2 separate regions of the Homo sapiens genome follow, and region 2 is linked to region 1. The links are contacts of gene promoters, found by promoter capture Hi-C in blood cells and fetal thymus (Javierre and others, 2016). All regions are on one chromosome and are shown on one strand. The core of a region is centred on a gene start or on the middle of the fragment in contact, and the rest is flanking DNA. Distances in the headings are between cores, read along the strand shown.

Evidence for each region. Contacts are between HindIII fragments. The CHiCAGO score rates a contact against its expected background, and 5 or more counts as called.
Region 2: a fragment that was not itself captured here is called in contact with the fragment with the promoter of GRIP2 in region 1 in 2 of 17 cell types (neutrophils and endothelial precursors); the score reaches 7.6 in neutrophils.

What each region holds. Positions count from the first base shown.
Region 1 is chr3:14,536,373-14,541,605 of GRCh38, forward strand. GRIP2 (glutamate receptor interacting protein 2) reads right to left here and starts at 3,970. Exons shown (of 24, transcript NM_001080423.4): 1 at 3,897-3,970. The coding sequence starts at 3,936. RefSeq lists an enhancer at 1-742. The HindIII fragment of the contact is 3,735 bases long and covers 2,869-5,233 here.
Region 2 is chr3:14,241,672-14,246,904 of GRCh38, forward strand. No RefSeq gene overlaps it. Among named protein-coding and RNA genes, the nearest start is that of LSM3, 65 kb to the left of the region's middle. The HindIII fragment of the contact is 4,287 bases long and covers 605-4,891 here.

The DNA.
Region 1 (5,233 bases), core at 2,720-5,219:
CCTCACAACAGACCATGCCCTGAACCCTTGGCTCTGCTCTTTCCCTCCAAACAGGAGGGCAACAGACCCCAAATGAGAAGCATCAGGGCACTGGGAAGGTGACAGCTCCAGTATCCCAAGAATACCTAAGTTAGGGCTCAGGCACTCACAGGCTGGGTGCATCAGGGCTAGCAGGACCCATGGCATCACCTGGAGAGGCCGCCACCCCCACAATCCTCCTCCACACAGGGAGAGGGGCTCCTGTCCAGCAGGCCTGAGCCACACGCAGGCCAACATCCCACCATGGGAGAGCGGGGGCGCAGTCTCAAGTTGGGGGTTGGCCTTCTGCGTTCTGGGTCCTGCTCTCCTGCCCTACTCTAAAACCAGCAATGTCAAGGAACGTGACCTCAAAATCAGGGTCACCCACAGAACCATTCAGTTTCCCAATGGCGGCTGCCTGCAGTCACAAGAAGACTGTGTCTAGCTCAGGGAGAGTAGAAGCAGAAGTCCTCACCACAACTGTCAGTCCCCGGTCCCCTGACTTCACCTCCTGATGCTCGCCCTGGCCAGCTCCACTCCAGCACACTGCATTTTCTCACTTAATCCTCATAACCACACTGCCACTTGGGCACTGTTATTCTCCCCATTTTACAGCTGGGAAAACTGAGGCATGGAGATGCTAAGTGACTTGTTCCTGGTTACACAGCCAGAAGTGACAAAGCGGAGATTTGACCCTATGGGCCCACCCCACCTTGGCAACTGCACTCTAAAGGGAGGTGAAGCCTTCCTGGACACATCTGTCCTTTCGACCCAAGGCCCACCAGACTCACATCCCCCTAGGGCCTTTGCATCGGCTGTTCCCTCTGCCCACAAAACTCTTCCCCAGACATCATCAAAACTCCCGTCTCAGCTCCTTCGGGAACTTGTAGAAATGTCACCTCCTCAGGGAGGCCTTCCCCATCCGCCTGTTGGAACTTACACACGCACCCTGTACCTCCACACCTCCTCTCCACTCCCTCCCTGCTTCATGTTCCTCTGGGCAATCAACACCATCTAAATATTTACGACTATTTTTACTGGGATGTCAGCTCCAGGGGGCCGGGCTTCTGTCTGCCTGCTCACTGCTGTGTGCAGCGCACACATTGTCTGGCATGTAGTACATGCTCAGCAAATATTTTTTTAATTCAATTCCCATTTACAGATTAGGAGAATGAGAATCAAAGAGGTGGAATGAGTTTCTCAAGGTCAGAGACTAGGAAGAGACAGAGCCAGGACGCAAACTCAGGCGAAGGATCCCCCATGGCCACAGCCCCTGCTGTGGAGTAGGAGGCCAGGCCTGCCTGAGGAGTCTCAGAGCCAAGGGGTAGGCCTGGTGAGGGCCCCTCGGAGGAGTGGGTAGCCCAGGGCACAGCAGGGGGACCTTCACACATGTACACCCACACCCACTGAGACTTCCCTGCCCCCAGCATGGCAGCAAGTGCCTGCTCAGACCTAGCAGGCCTGGAACAAAGATGTCTTTGTGGCTGCGGAGTCAGAGCAGGCCTCCCGTCCTCAAGGCAGGAGAGTGAACATGGAGAGGGACTTCCTGCCAAAATCTGTGTTCAGGCCTACTGTGTGCCCCAGCCTGGGCCAATGGAGATAGGTCACAGTCCCTTCCTGCCAGAACTCTGGGGTTAGTGACAGGAAAGCAAGACTCCCTGGAGTGAGACGACATGCCCAGGGTGTGGGGCCTGAGAAGGGACCCACCCAGAGTCCATCAGGAGCAGAGAAAGGGCATAGGGCTGCCTGGTCCACAGAGCCCAGCTCCAATCGGGGCACTCACTGACGCACACTGCCAGTGGGCTGACTTCTCAGGGCTGCAGTCTTCTGTGCCAAATGTGGAGGTATATGGCTGTCCTTACCAGCAACAGGGGAGGTCACATGACCAGGCCTGGCCAATCAGAGGCTCAGCGATCCATCAGGGGTGGGCATGTGATACAAGTTGGACCAATGAGAGCCGTTTCTGGGGCATTTGCTGGAACTACTGGAAATAGGCTCTCTTTCCTTAGGGATGACTGAGCTGGTTGACCTTAAGTTTGAAGGTGCCAGGAACTCTCAAGGAGAGGAGAGAGTCTGCCTGGAAATGAAGCTCACTAAAGTGAAGCAGAGCAAGCTACGAAGAGACCCAGAGTCCTAATGATGTTAATTGAGCATCTGGATCCCACTGTGCCTGAAGCTCCATCTTTACACTTTTTGGAAGAAGAGCCTTGGTGCTGATGCAAACTGAAGCAAGTGTGATCATGAGGTTCTGTGACCTGGGGAGGAGACCTAGGGTGGAGGCTACAGTGGTGAGGGTAGAGGTCAAGTAAGTCATCAGAGAGAGAAAATGTCAGAGAGGTCAGGAAGGGCCTTGAATGCAAGGCTTAGGAGCTGAGCAGATTTGTGTTTTGGCAAGCTTCCTCCCATGGCAGCAAAGGGGTGGAGGCCAGGCCAGGGAGGAGACTGGGCAAAGGCCCAGGCAGTTGATGCTGACCCTGGGCCGAGGTGGAGGTCACAGGCCCATGAGGAGGGGGAGACACCTCCCTGGCAGTGCCCCAGGTAAGGTCTCCAGGGCACTGCTGCCTTTGTGGCCCTGACCACAGCAGACCAAGGTGACCCCACTCACCTGGGCCTTGGGTTGAAAGAACAGATGTGTCCAGGCCAAGAAGGCAGAGCCTCCATTTACAGTGCAGTTGCCAAGGATGGGTGGGCCCATCGGGTCAAATCCCAGCTTTGTCACTTCTGGCTATATAACCCTGAACAAGTCACTTAGCAGCTCTCTGCCTCAGTTTCCCCAACTGCAAAATGGAGAGAATAACAGTACCCAAGTGGCAGTGTAGTTATGAGGATTAAATGAGAAAATGCACAGAAAGCTTAGAAAAGAGCCTGGCCCAGAGGAAGCTCTCGACAACAGCCAGCTATTATGATTATGAGTGTTATTTTTCCTGGGTCGCTAAGGCTGGGTCCAGAGGTGACCTGGCTCTGCTCCTTGCCATGGGAAGGGAGGTGGGAATCAAAGTCCACTGGGCCCTCAGAAGCAGGGCTGGGGGCTCTGCAGTAAAAGTCATCGGGGTGTCAATCCCAGCTCGGCCACTGCCCTCCCTGAGCCTTGGTTTCCTCCTCTGTCCACTGGGACCACAGTCCTTGCCCTTGGAGCTGTGGTGCAAAGATATGTCAAGAGCGTGGGAAGAAACCAGTGAGGCAACCCCAGGGCAGTGAATGCAGTATGTTCTGGTCCAGGCCCCAAGCTCCCTCTTTGGAGGAATAGGGTGAGCCCAGGCTGAGGCTGGAGAGACAGATGGAACAATCGTGTCTGCCCCTCCCCTGGGTCCCAGCCTCAGCACACCCAGGAATGTGGCAGCTGTGATCCCCCATCCCACACATTCCCAGAGCCCCAGGGGCTCACCAGTCAGACCCCCAAACCAGAGTTTCTCCTCCTGCCGAGAACCAGTCTCCTGCCCAGCTGTGCCAGCACAGGAACTCCTCACCACCACCTTGCCCATGGGCCTTGGGCTCTCACCCCTCTGGGTCGGACACTCACTCCCACCAGGCAGCTGTGCAGATCCTGAGATTGGGCAAAAGGCTTCGCTCACACCCAGATAGGACCAGCCTTCCCCCTACAAGGCTGAGCACTGCCCTCGGAACCTCCAGACCCGCCTGTTCTGCCTGCCTGTGCTGGACAGCCCTGGGGGAGGCTCAGCCATCCTGCTACAGGACAGTGGCCAGGGTCAGACAGACAGCCCCAGCAAGTGTCCTGCCCCACCCTCCCCAAGCCCTGGGTCTCCAGGGAGTGGCAGTCCCAGGTCTCAGCCATCCAGTCCCCTCTCTCTGGGCAGCAGCTCCAGAGGGATCTATGTGTTCAGCCCCATCACTCTGCCCACAGACCCCCCATTACGTACCCGCCTCTCCAGGGGTCTCCCGGCTGAGCCCACACAGCATGTTCGCTATTGTCTCCCCTGCTGCCCACCAACTCCCTCGGGAGCCACGCTGCTTGGCCCTCCCTCCCCTCCCCAGGGAGGGGCTGTGGGAGGGAAGCTCACAGCTCCCACTGGCTGGGCACCGAGTCCACCCACTGCAGCGGGCGGCTCTCTGCTTAAAGGGGACATGGCTATTGTCAAGGCTGGCTCCAGGACAGGGTCCAACATGCCCCACCCCTGCAGCCTGGGTCTGGACAGGGGGTCTTTGAAGGTGGCATGCCTGGGGCTTCCCCCAGGGCTCTCAGGCAGAGAGAGAGCCTGCTTCTAACTTGCCCTGGGACTTTGGCAAACGACTCTTCCCTCACTAGGCATCAGTTTTTTCATCTGGAGACAGGGAACAGTGCTTTCCAAACTTTTTTTTTTTCTAAACGGCAGATTCCAAGAGAATTTGCACAGAACCCCAGGACATAAGCTAGATGAAGCACAGACTCTTTGACTGCATGAACAATGCCAGGGCGTCTCTGTAGGTCTCAGCTTAGAAACCCTTGAGCTTGGAGACCCTCCAGGGCCCTCCCACCAATGTTCCAACTACCTCTCCTAGGTATCAGTTTTCCCTCGGTAAAATGGGACTTAGGAAAGATGAACCCGGCAGCCTGCCACGTGGAGTGGCCACCCAGCTTTTTGTGAAGACCAAGTGAGCTGGGTGGAGGATCTGCCCGCCTCTGGGCTTGATAGGCAGGGCCAGTTGGTCACAGGCTCCAGCCACACCTGGCAGGCTCTGCCCCGTCCCAGACCCAGCTGGGCCTTAGCCTTGCACACTCCTGGGATTCCTCCACATTGGCTCAGGACTGACCAGGCTGATCTTAATGGACACCTGAGGCTCCTCCTCTACCTGTCTGTGAGAAGGGGTGGCAGGCTGCACCCAATTTCCCCTGCCCTCCATCCCACCAGTGTGTGCTGGCACCAACTGAGGGTCAGACACCAAGAAGGGTGGGGTGATGGTGACAGGGCACTGAATGGTGGATGTCAACAACCTGTACAACTGCACAGTGCGTCTGGCAACAGAGAACCAGACAGACAAGGCCTGGCTCCCATGGAGTTCCTGACCGCGTGGGAACACACGAGCCTCATATTTCTTCCATGTGCCCTGCAGCTAGTGGGAGAGGGCTGCCCGGTAGTTAGGGACCCGAGGTTTCTTGTGGGTTCCCTCCAGAACAGTGACCCCAGCATGGAATTTAGCCACAATTCCTGGGCCGCCCCACACTGGCTCCTGCCAGCCCAACGCTAGTGGCACCTTTAGAATAATCCAGGTTCTAAAT
Region 2 (5,233 bases), core at 1,498-3,997, 300 kb before region 1:
GTTACACTAGCATTTTTAAAATTCTATTTTGGAACAGACATGGTGGCTCATGCCTGTAATCCCAGCACTTTGGGAGACCAAGGTGGGAGAATCCCTCGAGCCCAGGAATTAGAGACCTGCCTGGGCAACATAGCAAGATTTGGGCTCTATATAAAACTTTTAAAAAAATAGCCAAGTTCCATGGTACGTACCTGTAGACCCAACTACTCGGGAGGGTGAGGTGGGAGGATCACTTGAGCCCAGGATACCAAGGATGCAGTGAACCATGATTACACTGCTGCACTCCAGCCTGGGTGGCAGAGTAAGGCCCTGTCTCTAAAAATAAAAGTAATTTTGTTTTGATTTATCAATAGTGTATTTGAGTGTATCTTTTCATATAGACTTTTGATGGTTTCTCTAAGTACTAAATTATGTATACATAACTTATCAGCCTACTGATGTAATTATTTTACCAGTTTAAGTGAAGTATAGAAACCTTAGCTCCCTTTCTGTCCCTTTACCTGCACCTGTTAATAGCTGTCTTAAATTTTTCTTCTACATACATGTGGAACCACAGCAGCCGGTGTTGTAATATTTGCTCCATCCATCAAACATGATTTAGGGAAGCTTATCTGGGGGAAAGGGAAAGCCTGTTTGGTTTACCCATTTTTTTTTTGTTATATTCTTTCTTTTTTCCTGATGTTCCAAAGGTCCTCCTTTTATAGCTTTCTTTCTGTTCTTTTTATTATGGCTATTTTGAGATCCTTTTCAGATGATTCTAATATCTCCATCACCTTCATCGATTAGTTGTCTTTTATTCATTCCATTTGAGATCTTCCTGATTCTTGATATGTCAAGTGAATTTTTATTAAAACCTGGAAATTTTTGTATTTCGATGAGACTCGGGGCCTTATGGAAGCCTTCTCTGTAGCTAGCTTTCTCTGAACTGTTCTCACTGGGGCATGTGTGTGGCACTCCTCGTGGCTGACATGTGAAAGTAGAAGTCCAGGTTTCCCACTCAGCCTCCGCTGACACCAAGGTGTGGGGGTTCTTATTACTGCCAAGTTGGGGGAGAGAGTTCCTGCTCCCCAGCAGTCTCACTGACAGTTTGATGGAGGTGGCCTCATTGCTGCTGGGTGCTGCTGAAAGTCCTGACCCTCCCAAGACCTCCTTGGACACACTGGAGAGTGGGGAGAGGGAGAGACTCCACATTATTGCTGAGTGGGAGTGAAAATCCAGAGTCTCCATGTGGGTGGACTCCATGAGGGTGGGGAAGGATGAGCTGATTGCCAGCCAGCGAGGGTGAGGCCTTCGGCTCTCTACTTGGCCTTCTTGGACACCGCTCCAGCCAGGCTACTGGGATCCTTGTTACAGCCTCACAAGTGGGGGCGTCTAGGCTCCCACTCACCATTTGCTTTGTATGATTTGTGTGGTGTTTAGCTGGAGTAGAACAGGTTGCCTAAAAGTTTTCTCTCTTGCTAAGCTGCCTTTTCCTGGCCATTTGGTGAGAGAGCAGGCTTTTGTTGAGGTTTTCTTTGTGTTTCCAGGTCACCAGCTTCTTCCGCTCCAAGTCTCTTCCGAGGACAATTTGATTCCTATCTGAGCTTGGGAAGTCTGTGCTCATATTACTCAGGGGAGTCGCAGCAGCACCGGACCTGCCTCAGAGGATCTCCTGAACTTGGAGAGAGATGATTATGGATTGCAGACAGGAACATAATATGAAAAATGGAAGAAAACCATGTCATTTGTACTTTCAGTATGTGTTGGGTGTTTGAAAAGTGATTTTTTTCATCACGTGTCCTATCTTTATTACTCCTTTTTTTTTTCTTTTTGTTATTACGATGAAAAGTTCATGGTCATTGTAGAAAAATGAGAAACCAAGGTTAAGTAAGAAGAAAACTTTGGGCAGGAGGATCACTTGAGCCCAGGAGTTCAGGCTGCAGTGAGCTATGATTACACCACTGCACTCCAGCCTGGGCAGCAGAGTGAGACCCCGACTCAAAAAACAAAAAATTTACAATAAAGTTGAACTTTACTGGGCATCAAGAAAAAAAAAAAAAGAAGAAGAAGAAAACATTGACCTAAATAAGAGATACTTGGAAGCTGTGTAAGTCGCAGGTGGTACGACCACAAAGCCGGCCTGCCTGTGTCCACCAATGCAGCCCCTCTGACATTTCTGTTTCCTCCCTCTAAGCCTTCAGGGGCATCTGCCCAGTGCCAGGTCCTATGCTGAGTGCAGGTGGTGGATGTACAAGTCAGACCTGCAGAGCAGAGCCTCTGCCTGTTGACAAGAAGGAGGGGAGGCTGCCCCAGGCAGAGGGAGTGGCATTGCAGAGACGCAGAGACATGAACAACTTGGTGCAGCCCTTTCAGCGTTGCTAGAGCATTGCGGGGAAGGAGGCTGCGGTGCTGGGCTGTGCAGTCCTAAGTTTGCACCTGTTCTGTGGGCCACAGGAGAGCAGAGTCTGAGATGAGGACAGTATTAGTTTGCTAGAGCTTCCATGACAAAATACACAGACTAGGGGGCTTAAGCAACAGACATTTATTTTCTAACAATTCGGGAGGCCGGAAGTCTAAGATCAAGGTGTTGGCAAGTTTGGGTTCTCCCAGGGCCTCTCTCCTCGGCTTGCAGGTGGTCACCTTCTCACTGTGTCTTCACAGTCTCTCCTCTGAATATGCCTAGCCCTGGGGTCTCTGTGTGTCCAATCTCCTCCTTTTATAAGACCTCCAGTCAGATTGGATGAGGGTCCACCTTAACAGCCTCATTTTAACTTGACTATCTCTTTAGAGGCCCTATCTCCAGATATGGGCATGCTCTGATATACTGGGGATTAGGACTTCAACATAAAAATTTCTGGGGTGGAGAAGGAGACGCAGCACAGCCCCTAACAGGAAGCGAGCAGAGGAGTGGCTGGATCCTAGCTCTGTTACATAATTGGATTTCTGGCATCATGGAGGATGGATTGCAGGGAGAGGGGGCTCAGAGACTGTCAGATTTTTAAAGAAAAGGCAAGAGACAGTGGAGATACAAACAAAGGTGGGAGCCATGGGCGTGGAGAGCAGCAGGTGGGTCAGGGTGGGAGGGACAAGCAGAGAGAGGCGAGAGGGGCATCAGTGAGCCCACGCACAGGTCTTGGAGGCTCCTGGCCCTGGCACCCCTCTAGGAGAAGCCCTCTCACTGGGATCAGCCTCCAAGGCTGGCCTCCTTCCTCTTCCCTCTTGATCCCATCTGGTAAACCTGCTTGCTGCTTTCCCCAAACAGAATGCATCCAAAGAGATCCACAGGAACACACAATGCAATTAAATTTCTGGAAACTAAAGACAGAAAAAAATTGTGAAAGTAGGTCAACTGCAGTGTAGCTGATTTACAGAGTCAATAATAACTCCACAGGTGTGCGCAGAGCGGCACACTCATTAATGGGCCCCTTTTGCCAGGTTTTCTGTATCAGAATTATGCTAGTTTCACAAAAGGAATTTGGAAGTTTTCCTTCTTTCTCTGTGCACTGAAATGCTTTAAATAGCATCGGAGTGATCGTTCCCTAAAGATTTGGTTGGGTTCACTTATAGGCCTGGTGATTTTCCCCCCTTTTCACATCTTTATGAAGGTGGTCCGTTGAGACCATCACCACAATCAAGATGGCAAGCATTTCCATTGCCCCCAAAGTCGCCTCGTGCCCTCCTGTTTACAACCCACCCCTCCTCCACCCCCGTCCCCAGGCAATCCTTGGCCTACTTTCTGTTTTTATAGATTTGTTTGCGTCTTCTAGAATTTTATGTAAATGGAATCAAACAGTACTTTCTTTGGCCTTTTTCACTTAGCATAATTATTTAGAGATTCACGCATGTTGTGGGTATCCAGAGTTTATTCATTTTTATTGCTGAGTAAAATTCCATTGTATGAATATACCACCATTTGTCTATATATTCACCAGTTGGGGGACATTTGAGTTGTTTCCAGTTTGAGGCTATTATAAATAAAGCTGCTATAAACATTCTCGTACAAGTCTTTGTGTAGACATATGTATTTTTTTCTCTCTTGGATAAATACCTAGAAGTGGAAAGATTGGGCCATATGGTAGGTGTATGTTTAATGTTTTAAGAAACTGCCCATTTTCCAAAGTGGCTGTTCCATTTTACATTCTCACCAGCAGCGTACGAGAGCATTCCGGTTGCTCCATATCCTTGCCAGCAGTAGATACAGTCTTCTTCTGATTTTTTGAGTGGTTGCAAATTGACAACTTTCTCAAATTCTTCTCTTTATCTTCGACTAGGTTACCTAACCCACAGATTCTCCAGTGAAGCTCAGGTACCTGTGTGTCATTCCAGGGTGTGAGCTGGGGGAAGACTGAGGGAAGACGGGAAGTGAAGCAGGGAAGGAGAGAAAGAAAACACAGGGTGGTGCATGATTGAGCATGTCACAGCTTCAGAGCAAAGCACACCAGGTCACTCAGCCATGTAACATCTCCAGAGAGCCAAGACTAGCAGAGGAAGAAAGAGGCATCTCCTGGTGATTTTCCATCATCTGTCTTTCACTGGTCCAAATTGACCCTACGGGCCTTAACTCCCCTGAAAGTGTTGTGGCCCCTTCAGACAGCTGCTGGGGAAGCCACATGCTACATCTCAGGGCAGAGTGCTTCATCTGGGTCTAGAAACAGTGAGACAAGCCAGAGCCTCTGCATGACCAGTCAGGTTGGACCAGGGCACCAGAGTTGCTGTGGTTCCACGGAAGGTAAGAGGCCAGGCCTAGGTGCAGACGTTGCCCCGTGGGAGGTGGAGCCCGTGGCAATTAGGAGATGAGCTGGTGTGGGGCCTGTGCTCCCCTGAGCAAGTAAGTGAGGCTGGGGGTGTTGGTGGGGGTGCAACCAGTGGAGCTGAGCAAACCCGGAGAGGTCCATGAGTTGAGTCAAGTACAAGCTTCACGGAGAGTTTGCATCTGTGAGCTCCTCTTATCTCCCGCACAGTCCTGGAATGTAAACAGGATGTAAAATCTGAAGCCCTGGATTTCTGATGAGGAAAGTCTGGTCTTCTCCAAGTGACCCATCCAGGATCACACATCAACCAAGGGTGGCACACATGGGTCTTCAGACTCTGAGCCCAGTGCTCTCTCCACTGTGCTAGGTAGTTTCAAAACATTCTCAGATTTACGTTTCTGGGACTATGTTTGGTTTGGGGGCACCTGCTGGAAGACCGAACAGCACATCCCGAATCTTGTTTTCTATTTTCAGCCACCTTGGGGGAGTGGAGCAGCAGCAGA